Regions from separate parts of the Homo sapiens genome. Here regions 1 and 3 are each linked to region 2. The links are contacts of gene promoters, found by promoter capture Hi-C in blood cells and fetal thymus (Javierre and others, 2016). All regions are on one chromosome and are shown on one strand. The core of a region is centred on a gene start or on the middle of the fragment in contact, and the rest is flanking DNA. Distances in the headings are between cores, read along the strand shown.

What was found. Contacts are between HindIII fragments. The CHiCAGO score rates a contact against its expected background, and 5 or more counts as called.
Region 1: a fragment that was not itself captured here is called in contact with the fragment with the promoter of LIG4 in region 2 in 1 of 17 cell types (M0 macrophages); the score reaches 5.0 in M0 macrophages.
Region 3: a fragment that was not itself captured here is called in contact with the fragment with the promoter of LIG4 in region 2 in 1 of 17 cell types (neutrophils); the score reaches 5.1 in neutrophils.

What each region holds. Positions count from the first base shown.
Region 1 is chr13:108,509,072-108,513,613 of GRCh38, forward strand. It overlaps a transcript of MYO16 not described here. Among named protein-coding and RNA genes, the nearest start is that of MYO16, 120 kb to the right of the region's middle. The HindIII fragment of the contact is 4,489 bases long and covers 1-3,773 here.
Region 2 is chr13:108,212,491-108,216,829 of GRCh38, forward strand. It overlaps LIG4 (DNA ligase 4), which reads right to left and starts at 3,046. Exons shown (of 3, transcript NM_206937.2): 1 at 2,994-3,046; 2 at 2,048-2,120. RefSeq lists an enhancer at 2,971-3,265 and a silencer at 3,109-3,248. The HindIII fragment of the contact is 5,824 bases long and covers 1,511-4,339 here.
Region 3 is chr13:108,471,196-108,475,431 of GRCh38, forward strand. No RefSeq gene overlaps it. Among named protein-coding and RNA genes, the nearest start is that of MYO16, 160 kb to the right of the region's middle. The HindIII fragment of the contact is 2,598 bases long and covers 536-3,133 here.

The DNA.
Region 1 (4,542 bases), core at 279-2,778, 300 kb after region 2:
GTTTAATAAACCAGTGTTAGCCTTAGACCATCAAAGATAAATTTTAGTAAAAGATAGTTAAAAGAACAGGTAGAGAGATCTGAAACCTTCAGGGAGTAATATAAGTAGAGGACTGATCAAGGTCAAATAATGAAAGACCAACAGAAACGGAATTGGAATCCCAGATAAATATCAACTTGCACAGTATGATACTTGCACAACCTGAAGAGTATTTTTAAGTGACGATTTCTCTCCTACAGAAACTAGAGAAAGGGTTTTTGGTTGTTAATAGAAACATTACAAAGTACAAATAATTCAAAAGAAAAAAATGAAAGAATTCATAATCCTACTACTCTATGGAAAGCTACACTTTACACTTTGCTGTACATCTTTCCCTAAGGTTGACTGTCGGATTGTGTATACATGTATGTGTACATATGAGAATATACAAGTTAGCATTAATTCCACTCTTTCCTCATAATGTAGTAACCACATGGTTTGAATGAGATTGGTCCAACTCAAGCTCTAAAAGTGGGCTATGATTGGCTTCAGTTGATCAGCATAATCTTGCTTGCTCTGATGACTTTATTTTACCTTTGGTCACTTTTCAAGTTTAAGAATAGCATTAGAAGATATACCTAATGTTAAATGACGAGTTAATGGGTGCAGCATACCAATATGGCACATGTATACATATGTAAAAAACCTGCACATTATGCACATGTACCCTAAAACTTAAAGTATAATAATAATAAAAAAAGGAATATGACCCAACTGAGTGTGGCCCAGGACTTTTCTTGCATCATGGACTCTCTCTTTTTCTTCCCCCGCCCAACCCCAACATTGTTTTGCTACAGTCATGGTGCTGTCATCCCAGAAGCCCTTTTATTACTAACTTTGCTACAAGATACAGCAGAAGTTGAGTACGTTGAGTGAGAAGAGCAAGGGGCTAAAGCCATGGTCAAGTAACACCTGAAATAATCCCCAATATTAGTTCTGCCCTAGAATGCTTGTGGATTGCAGAAGGATAGTCATGATAGTTAATTTTTATTTTTTGTTTGTTTGTTTTCGTTTTTTGTTTTTCGAGACAGAGTCTCGCCCTGTCGCCCAGGCTGGAGTGCAATGGCGCTATCTCGGCTCACTGCAAGCTCTGCCTCCCGGGTTCACGCCATTCTCCAGCCTCAGCCTCCCGAGTAGCTGGGACTACAGGTGCCCGCCATCACGCCCGGCTAATTTTTTTGTGTTTTTAGTAGAGATGGGGTTTCACCGTGTTAGGCAGGATGGTCTCGATCTCCTGACCTTGTGATCCATCCTCCTTGGCGTCCCAAAGTGCTGGGATTACAGGCGTGAGCCACCATGCCCGGTAGATAGTTAATTTTTTTTTTTTTTTTATATTTAACATTGATAGCTGTTTTTTTTTTTTTTTTTTTTTTTTATTGTACTTTAAGTTTTAGGGTACATGTGCACATTGTGCAGGTTAGTTACATATGTATACATGTGCCATGCTGGTGCACTGCACCCACTAACGTGTCATCTAGCATTAGGTATATCTCCCAATGCTATCCCTCCCCCCTCCCCCGACCCCACCACAGTCCCCAGAGTGTGATATTCCCCTTCCTGTGTCCATGTGATCTCATTGTTCAATTCCCACCTATGAGTGAGAATATGCGGTGTTTGGTTTTTTGTTCTTGTGATAGTTTACTGAGAATGATGGTTTCCAATTTCATCCATGTCCCTACAAAGGACATGAACTCATCATTTTTTATGGCTGCATAGTATTCCATGGTGTATATGTGCCACATTTTCTTAATCCAGTCTATCATTGTTGGACATTTGGGTTGGTTCCAAGTCTTTGCTATTGTGAATAATGCCGCAATAAACATACGTGTGCATGTGTCTTTATAGCAGCATGATTTATAGTCATTTGGGTATATACCCAGTAATGGGATGGCTGGGTCAAATGGTATTTCTAGTTCTAGATTCCTGAGGAATCGCCACACTGACTTCCACAATGGTTGAACTAGTTTACAGTCCCACCAACAGTGTAAAAGTGTTCCTATTTCTCCACATCCTCTCCAGCACCTGTTGTTTCCTGACTTTTTAATGATTGCCATTCTAACTGGTGTGAGATGATATCTCATAGTGGTTTTGATTTGCATTTCTCTGATGGCCAGTGATGATGAGCTTTCTTCGTGTGTTTTTTGGCTGCATAAATGTCTTCTTTTGAGAAGTGTCTGTTCATGTCCTTCGCCCACTTTTTGATGGGGTTGTTTGTTTTTTTCTTGTAAATTTGTTTGAGTTCATTGTAGATTCTGGATATTAGCCCTTTGTCAGATGAGTAGGTTGCGAAAATTTTCTCCCATGTTGTAGGTTGCCTGTTCACTCTGATGGTAGTTTCTTTTGCTGTGCAGAAGCTCTTTAGTTTAATTAGATCCCATTTGTCAATTTTGGCTTTTGTTGCCATTGCTTTTGGTGTTTTGGACATGAAGTCCTTGCCCACGCCTATGTCCTGAATGGTAATGCCTAGGTTTTCTTCTAGGGTTTTTATGGTTTTAGGTCTAACGTTTAAATCTTTAATCCATCTTGAATTGATTTTTGTATAAGGTGTAAGGAAGGGATCCAGTTTCAGCTTTCTACATATGGCTAGCCAGTTTTCCCAGCACCATTTATTAAATAGGGAATCCTTTCCCCATTGCTTGTTTTTCTCAGGTTTGTCAAAGATCAGATAGTTGTAGATATGCGGCATTATTTCTGAGGGCTCTGTTCTGTTCCATTGATCTATATCTCTGTTTTGGTACCAGTACCATGCTGTTTTGGTTACTGTAGCCTTGTAGTATAGTTTGAAGTCAGGTAGTGTGATGCCTCCAGCTTTGTTCTTTTGGCTTAGGATTGACTTGGCGATGCGGGCTCTTTTTTGGTTCCATATGAACTTTAAAGTAGTTTTTTCCAATTCTGTGAAGAAAGTCATTGGTAGCTTGATGGGGATGGCATTGAATCTGTAAATTACCTTGGGCAGTATGGCCATTTTCACGATATTGATTCTTCCTACCCATGAGCATGGAATGTTCTTCCATTTGTTTGTGTCCTCTTTTATTTCCTTGAGCAGTGGTTTGTAGTTCTCCTTGAAGAGGTCCTTCACATCCCTTGTAAGTTGGATTCCTAGGTATTTTATTCTCTTTGAAGCAATTGTGAATGGGAGTTCACTCATGATTTGGCTCTCTGTTTGTCTGTTGTTGGTGTATAAGAATGCTTGTGATTTTTGTACATTGATTTTGTATCCTGAGACTTTGCTGAAGTTGCTTATCAGCTTAAGGAGATTTTGGGCTGAGACGATGGGGTTTTCTAGATAAACAATCATGTCGTCTGCAAACAGGGACAATTTGACTTCCTCTTTTCCTAATTGAATACCCTTTATTTCCTTCTCCTGCCTGATTGCCCTGGCCAGAACTTCCAACACTATGTTGAATAGGAGCGGTGAGAGAGGGCATCCCTGTCTTGTGCCAGTTTTCAAAGGGAATGCTTCCAGTTTTTGCCCATTCAGTATGATATTGGCTGTGGGTTTGTCATAGATAGCTCTTATTATTTTGAAATACGTCCCATCAATACCTAATTTATTGAGAGTTTTTAGCATGAAGGGTTGTTGAATTTTGTCAAAGGCTTTTTCTGCATCTATTGAGATAATCATGTGGTTTTTGTCTTTGGCTCTGTTTATATGCTGGATTACATTTATTGATTTGCGTATATTGAACCAGCCTTGCATCCCAGGGATGAAGCCCACTTGATCATGGTGGATAAGCTTTTTGATGTGCTGCTGGATTCGGTTTGCCAGTATTTTATTGAGGATTTTTGCATCAATGTTCATCAAGGATATTGGTCTAAAATTCTCTTTTTTGGTTGTGTCTCTGCCTGGCTTTGGTATCAGAATGATGCTGGCCTCATAAAATGAGTTAGGGAGGATTCCCTCTTTTTCTATTGATTGGAATAGTTTCAGAAGGAATGGTACCAGTTCCTCCTTGTACCTCTGGTAGAATTCGGCTGTGAATCCATCTGGTCCTGGACTCTTTTTGGTTGGTAAACTATTGATTATTGCCCAATTTCAGCTCCTGTTATTGGTCTATTCAGAGATTCAACTTCTTCCTGGTTTAGTCTTGGGAGAGTGTATGTGTCGAGGAATGTATCCATTTCTTCTAGATTTTCTAGTTTATTTGCATAGAGGTGTTTGTAGTATTCTCTGATGGTAGTTTGTATTTCTGTGGGATCGGTGGTGATATCCCCTTTATCATTTTTTATTGTGTCTATTTGATTCTTCTCTCTTTTTTTCTTTATTAGTCTTGCTAGCGGTCTATCAATTTTGTTGATCCTTTCAAAAAACCAGCTCCTGGATTCATTGATTTTTTGAAGGGTTTTTTGTGTCTCTATTTCCTTCAGTTCTGCTCTGATTTTAGTTATTTCTTGCCTTCTGCTAGCTTTTGAATGTGTTTGCTCTTGCTTTTCTAGTTCTTTTAATTGTGATGTTAGGGTGTCAATTTTGGATCTTTCCTGCTTTCTCTTGTAGGCATTTAG
Region 2 (4,339 bases), core at 1,796-4,295:
TTTTCCAAAAAAAGATTTCAAGTAAAATGTATGGTCCATGAATAGAAACTATGTTTTATCCTGTGGTTTCAGACCCCTCCTGGCACACCACCATGTATCCCAGGCAGTGGAGTTGGAGAAGTTTTGCTGGGAGTGGGGAGATCTATTACAGTGCAGAAAATATGTGACTCCCCATCTTCCAATTCGCAAACAAATGAGCAACACACACATGCACAAGGCTACATTATCTAGTATCCAGTAAAATAAATCAAATGGCTAATTACAATACTACATTTACTATACTGTCAGTATCTAGAGGCCAGGAATTGTGCTGTAATTTGTGCTCTAGTGGCAGACATGTAGGAGGTTTGCTGAATGAATTACTGAACACCTAGAGTTGACTCCTGGATAAGCACACTAGGGAAAGCTATGGTCTGGTTACATACCACACACTCACACACGCACGCAGACACACAGTGGGTGAGATTCAGTTTGGTTAAAAATATTCAGTAGCTCTGACTGCCCTGGCAATGGTTTACAACAGCCATTTGGTGGCCTATAGAGAAAAAAGGTGCACTTCTCAGTCTAATTTCTGACAAAGGAAACCCAGCTTCTACTGAGTGGGTTAGATCGAGGGATAAACGCATGACAGACCACTTTCCTGAAACTTTTATCTTTGAATATACTGTTGTTTCCTCTCTCTGAATCTGGTTTGCATAACTGACTGTAACACCTGGTTATGTATGTTCACTGCCCTATCTCCCAAAATTTGCTCCCTCAAGGGAGTAAACAGGGTACACAATGCTATATCTACAATTTCTATATAAACTATGTAAAATAAAGTAGGTTAACTAATATTTCTTTAATATTCAAATATTGGTATATAGTTTCTACAGATATATCTATAGATTCTACATGGTCTCAAAGTTAAAGTTTCGCTCAACAAATCCCAGGCAAGGACTTAAATTACTTTATAATGACAAAATGTAGGTAATGGTGTGGATACACATGTATCCTAAAATGGCTACGCCTATAACAAGGATTCCAAAATTGCCATAAACTAGTCGTAAGTATTTTTGCTCATTACAACGGCATAAAAAGTCAAAGATTAGGACTTCCATTCATTTTTACATGCTAATTTTATTTTTTGGATTCTGAGGATTTTAGCTGATTCATTCCATTTGCAGTAAGACAAATGAGGAGGTTCCTGGTTAGGGCTCAGGTTTTAGACTCTAATAAATCTGAGTTCAAATGTGGATGGTAACATTTAACAGCTGTGTGATACTGGGCAATTACTTAATTTCTCTAAGCTTCAGTTTCCTAAAGTATAAAATGGGGTTAAAAACTATGTAGAAATTAGAATGAAGATAAAAATCAGATAATCTACAAAATGTGCTTTAAAAAGTAGTAAGTCTTGATAATTTTAATACTATAATGCTTGCTGATCCAAGCAACATTTAAAATATAAATATTGCAAAATATTAACGAGATAAAAAGGTGGGAAGAAGCTTCACTCTTTAACAATAAGCAAAGCTTTCAGGAGAATGAATGCAAGCAATTAGTACACAATAACGATTCATCATTCATTCAGTTCTGACTAAATTGTCCTGAAGTGACACATGAAAATAAACCGGCAGGTTTTATTCAGTGACTATGGAAGGTGATTAAGTGCTATGCTATTGCACTTAAAAAAGAGAGAGGAAAAAAAGGAGTAAGTGACGAATGCAACTGAAGTATCCTTCATGCAACCCTTGACAAGCTGTGTTTCCCTAGGAAACAAAGGGTTTACAGCTGCCTATCTTCCACAGCACTTAGTGACAATTTGGGACAATCTCAGCAAAAAGAAATGAGCAGACAAAGACGCTAGAAGGGCTTTGGGATCCCAAAAGTTAATGAAAGACCAAGTGTAAGAAGAGAAATAAAGTAATTCCCTCCAAGCCTAAAGTCTCTCCCGCTCCAATGCCCCCTGTACCCTCTCGGAAAATGGAAAATCCCTAAGGAGTCTACATCATTCCTCTGCCCGTTCCCCCTACTCTCCCCCAACCCTTCACGGATTCCCAGTGAATACCTGGCCTCGGGCAAGCTCCGTTACCTCTGTGAACCAGAGAATCCCAGCTGTAAAATGAGATCTTGATGGTTTCCTGCGGGGTTGCCATGAGAAAGAATCAACATGTACGCAGGTAAAGCAGGCAATACAGTTCCAGGGAGTCAAAAACGGGAGAAATCGTCCCACGACCTGGGGCTTGGGTCTAGATGAAGAGCACAGCATCAGGAGGCCAGGCTTCTAATGCGGCGCAGTCTACAGCGCTGTGGACTCGGCAACTCCCATCACCTGCCGCTGCACAAACACCCTGCTTGCTGCCCCCATAGACCGACCCCCGCCTGACGCCTCCCAGACCCCCCCACCTGACGCCCCTCAGGCCCCCCGCCTGACGTCCCAGACACCCCCACGACCGGATCCCCCAGACCCCCAATCTGACGCCCCACTTCCCCTACTTGACTCCCCACACATCCCCCGCCTGACGACCCCCCGACCCCCGCCTGACGTCCCAGACACCACCCATCTGATCCCCCAGACCCCCAATCTGACGCCCCACACCCCCCACTTGACTCTCCACACACCCCACACCTGCCACCCCACGTAAACCCCGCCTGACACCTCACAGACCCTAACCTGACGCCCCACAGACCTCCCCCGCCTCCTGCCGCCACACACACCCCAAACCCCGCCCCGAACACCCCCCACCTGCCGCCCCACAGATTCCCCCCTCTGACGCCCCACAGACCCCCAACGTGACGCCCTACAGACCCCAACCTGACGTCCCACAGATACCCCGCCTGACGCCCCACAGACCTTCCCCCGGTCTGTTGCCCCACAGACTTCTCGCCGCCTGCTGGACCACACCTTCCACTTGACTCCCCCCACACCGTCAATCTGCCACCCCCCACCCCCCCCACCCCAACCCCCCCCAACCTCCCAACCGCCCCCACCTGCCACCCCACACCCTTCCCACCTGACGTCAAGCCTGAAGCTCAGCCGCTAAGCCGGAAGCTGGCGCCAGAAGATGCCGGTTCCGCCAGCTGCTCGCCGCGCAGGCGCAGGGGAGACCCGGGGCCTTGCAGTCACCGGGCTCAAGCACGCCGGCGCAGCCAGGCTCGCGATGGGAGGTGGGGGGGCCGGCAGCCCCGTGGGGCTGCGGAGGCGGGACCTGCAGGATCCTGGTTAGGGTCTTGAGTACACACGGCTCCTATTGGCCTCGGCAGCAGATGCTCTCTGCAAGCAGTTGATCCACACGCCAGTGGATTTTGTCTCGAGGGAGACCTAAGATCACTTTGTGCTCTGGCTAGTGATAGCCTCTAATTCTTGTTCTCTGTACGTAAAACAGTGGTAACTATACTGATTTCGCTGGTTGTGAAAACTCCCAAGAGAGAACAGGACATCCTCCCAACTCAAAACGTTGGTTGTTTCATTTAAACTTTTAAAAAATAGGCTTTTGCAAACTATATAGAGCTGTTTTTTTTTTTAAATGATGTTTGCTACTGTGGTCTCAGTTCTCTTAATACAGAAATAATACATAACAATACATAACTTACAATATAGAAATAAACCGTTGCATGACCAGAAATCAACTATGGACTCTTCTAGTATCTGTTTAAGGTTTAAAAATAAAGTTATTTAACAAACCTTTATTGAGCACCTATTATTATATAGTAATGGTGCTAGATATTCAGGGTGGAGAGATTATAAACAACCCCAGTTTTTGTGTTCCAGGAGCTGTTGGTTTCCACCGAATTTTTGCTGTGGTCAGTCCTCTTTCGCCATGGAGAAGTGAGAAGTTATTCATAAAGAGGGGTGGAAACAACTTTTAGAACTATTTTATTTTAGCATAAAATATTGCTTTACAATAAAATAAATTTTGCTGCAGTGGGCCCTGATAAAACATATTAGAGCTGTTAAGTGCCCTTAGAGGTTGTGTAATGTATAAAAACCTCCTTTTTCAAAACTGACACATTTCATTCAGTGCTAGTTTGTAGCGGAGGTTCCGTCTAGCCCAAGAACATTCAGTTATTTACTTCGTATGTCTAATTGACCTAATATGCCTGAATATCTAAAATCATCTGTGATGTTGTAAAGTCTCATGATATTGTTTTGTGAGTATCTGCTCTTCAATTTAGTTATCAATTTATTTTGGAGGAAAAATGAATAGTGTTAAGGTAGAGGAGCCTCCACTTGCCCATCTTAGGAGAGGGTACCTATCCGTGTACATTTGTAGCTTGTTCAACCTCTACTGAGCTCCTACAATGTCAGAAGCTGGACTTTGTATTAGTTACATGAGAAGAACCATGAATTATGAAACCA
Region 3 (4,236 bases), core at 585-3,084, 260 kb after region 2:
TCCTTAAGTAAAGTTTATGTACTAGTTGAAATGGTTTGGCTCTGTGTCCTCACCCAAACCTCATCTCAAATTGTAATTCCACGTGTCGAGGAAGGGACCAGTAATCCCCACATGTTGAAGGAGGGAGGTGATTGGATCATAGGAGCAGTTTCCCCCATGCTGTTTTTCCTTACAAGATCTTCTTACAAGATCTGATGTTTTTATAAGTATTTGGAAGTTCCTCCTTTGCTCTTCTCTCTCCTGATGCCTTGTGATGAAGGTGGCTCCTTTCTGTTCCACCATGATTTTAAGTTTCCTGAGACCTCCCCAGCCATGTGGAACTGTGACTCAATTAAACCTCTTTCCTTTGTAAATTACTAGTCTCAGGAAAATTCTTTATAGCAGTGTGAAAATGGACTAATACAATAAATTTGTACCAGGAGTGGGGCACTGCTATAAAGATAACCTGAAAATGTGGGAGCAACTTTGGAACTGGGTAACAGGCAGAGGTTGGAACAACTTGGAGGGCTCAGAAGAAGACAGACAGACGTGGGAAAGCTTGGAACTTCCTAGAGACTTGTTGAATGGCTTTGACCAAAATGATGATAATGATGTAAACAAAAAAATTCAGGCTGAGATGGTCTCAGATGGAGATAAGGAGCGTCTTGGGAACTGGAGCAAAGATTACTCTTGCTTCGCTTGAGCAAAGAGACTGATGACATTTTGCCCCTGTCCTAGAGATCTACAGAACTTTGAACTCAAGAAAGCTGATCTGAAATGGCAACTTATGTTTAAAAGGGAAGCAGAGCATAAACATTTGGAAAATTTGCAGCCTAATGATAACGATAGAAAAAAAATTTCTGGGGAGAAATTCAAGGAGGCTGCAGAAATTTGCATAAGTAACGAGGAGCCGAATGTTACTAGCCAAGACAATGGAGAAAATGTCTCCAGGGCATGTCAGAGATCTTGGTAGCAGCCCCTCCCATCATAGGCCTGAGGCCTAGGAGGAAAAAATGGTTTCATGGGCCAGGCCCAGGGCCCTGCTGCTGTGTGCAGCCTTGGGACTTGGTGCCCTGCATCCCAGTCACTCCAACTCCAGCCATGGCTAAAAGGGGACAATGTACAGCTCAAGCCATTGCTTCAGAAGCTGCAAGCCACAAGACTTGGCAGCTTCCACATGGTGTTGAGCCTGCAGGTGCACAGAAGTCAAGAACTGAGGTTTGGGAACCTCCATCTAGATTTCATAGGATGTATGGAAACACCTAGATGTCTAGGCAGAAGTCTGTTGCAGGGGTAGAGCCCTTATGCAGAACCTCTGCTAGGGAAGTGTGGAAGGGAAATGTGAGGCTGGGGCCCCCACACAGAGTCCCTACTGGGCCACTGCTTAGCGGAGCTATGAGAAGAGGGCCACCATCCTCCAGAACCCAGAATGGTAGATCCACCAATAGCGTGCACTGCCTGGAAAAGCCACAAGCACTCAATGCCAGCCTGTGAAGGAGCTGCCCAAGGCCATGGGCATCCGCTCCTTGCATCGGCATGCCTGGGATGTGAGACATGGAGTCAAAGGAGATTATTTTGGAGCTTTAAGATTTAATGACTGTCACTGGATTTTGCTCCTACATGGGGCCTGTAGCCTCTTTGTTTTGGCAAATTTCTCCCATTTGGGATGGGAGCATTTAACCAATGCCTGCACCCCCATTGCATCTAGGAAGTAACTAACTTGCTTTTGATTTTACACGCTCATAGGTGGAAGGGACTTGCCTTGTCTCTGATGAGACTTTAGACTATGGACTTTTGAGTTAATGCTGAAATGAGTTAAGACTTTGAGGAGACTGTTAAGAAGGGATGATTGGTTTTCAAATGTGAAAAGACATGAGATTTGGGAGGGTTCAGGGCAGAATGACATGGTTTGGTTCTGTGTTGTCACCCAAACCTCATCTCGAATTCTAATCCTCACATGTCGAGAGGGGACCTGTAATCCCCACATGTAGAGGGATGGAGGTGATTGGATCATGGGGGCAGTTTCCCCCATGCTGTTCTAGTGAGTTTTCATGAGATCTGATGGTTTTATAAGTGTTTGGAAGTTCTTCTTTGCTCTTCTCTCTCTCTCTCGTTGCCTTGTGAAGAAGGTGGCTGCTTCCCCTTCTGCCAGGATTGTAAGTTTCCTGGGCACTCCCAAGCCATGTGGAGCTGTGAGCTGATTAAACCTCTTTCCTTTATAAATTACCCAGTCTCAGGGAAGTTCTTTATAGCAGTGTGAAAATGGACAAATATACTAGTTATTTGTCTCAATGCACTAAGACCTACTTACCTCTGATCAAAATTCAGAAGAAAATTTTTTCAATGTAAACTAAAAACATAAATGACATGCTCAGGATAAAAATATAACATCCCAAATTCAGGAGAGTTAAATGAAAACATTATATGCAATCATGAAATCTGAATTTGAGTCCTAAATGTTTTCCTCACCGGATTTGGGAAAGAGCTATGTTCAGTAATCTCAAACATTAAATTGAAGTAATGAAATTAATGGTTTCCAAGAACTTTAAGATTACAAGAACTATTTTATATAGAAGTTATTTTAAGCTATATAGCAATTTACAAATGTTAATTATTTCTGTTTAATTGTTTCTTAAAAGGTTTAACATCTTCTACACCAGAGTATCATGACAGGTAAAATTAGCTACAATCCTTCTGTAAACACTGCCACTTTGACAACCTGGTTATGTGTGCCTATAAATAAAATGCTTCATTGGAAAATATTTTTCACAGACCAAAATAACAAGAAAAGAAAGTGTGCCATTGCCACAGCAAGTAGCACACATTTATCTTGTGAAAGATGCAAATGTTGAGATATATGCTTACATTCACTTTTACTGTTGATCATTTCTAAAACAACTGTGAGGTCCAAATTTAGTGGCCATCTATGCTTATTATATTTTAAATCAGTCATTTATTATAGATGCCATTTTGTAAGACTGCAATACATATGCTATGTATCAATTAATTCTCTCATCTTAATGTTCTGCCTCCTCTATTTGTCTTTTGCTTTCATTTCCATACCTATGCACCTCTTTCTACAGCTGCTCTTTGAACAACAAAAGTTTTGAACTGTGTAGGTCAACTTATATACAGATTGTTTGCAATCAAATGAAGCTTGAAAATACAGTATTCATGGGATACAAAACCTGCCTATACCAAGGGCAGACTCTTCAGATACACAGGTTTCACATGGCTGACGTGGGGACTTGCGTATGGACAGATCTTGGTGTACTCAGGGATCCTGGAACCAATTCTGTGTATAACAAAGGACAACTGCACTTTATATTTCTCCTCGTAAGCTGTCTTATATTCTTTCAGAAAGAAAAGAATTAAAAATAGATACTGTGGAATGCTGTTCAGAAGCAAATTCTGTTTGAAATGTACATTATATACCTGTATATACATGATATATATGTATATGTATAATTTATATTTTAAGATTTAAAAATGCATTTTATGGTGGAACCAAATTTAAGAATGTTAAGTAACAATCACATATAACAATTGTACTCGGTATTGTTAGAAAGACAAGATGTCATTTTTAAAAATTGCAGTTTTGAACATTGTGTTTTCAGAGACCAATGATATTTTTGTTTTTACTCTTAGTAATTTTTTAAAATACAGGAATAAGAACAACCACCTGAAAATTTAATGGCTAACATAAACCACTTTGGCCTCTAGAGGTTTATTTGAAATGGCAACTCATTTTTTTAGGCAAATATATTCTGGTACAAAGAAATTTCTAAAATGCCCAGAGGTGATGCATTTAGGAAGCTGATTTGAAACAAGGCAAAAAGATTAATTGCAGAGATTTCAACTTGAGATAAATGGAGTCAAAGTGGCAAACTGGCATTCGCATTTAAGATGTAGACTGACTGAAGAGGGATCTGATCTTCATTGGTAATTCACCTTCTAGTGCCTCGGTCTTCAGGCAGAAGGTGGCTCTCCAAGATTCATAGGGGTGGAAGTGCTTCCATGAGGAGCATCTATTTACCCTATTCTCTTGACTGAGAATAAACTAGTAAATTACAAAATCAGAAAGGCTGGTGTGGGGAATCTCCATTCTTTATTTGGCTTCCTTCCATCCTGGCATTGTATCTTGTCTCTTCCATAACCCATAAGTGTATCTCATGACTTTCTAGCAAATGGAAAATATGCTGTATCATCATTTCAACAGACTAAAAACGCATTCTCTGTCCTAGGTCAGCTCCACCT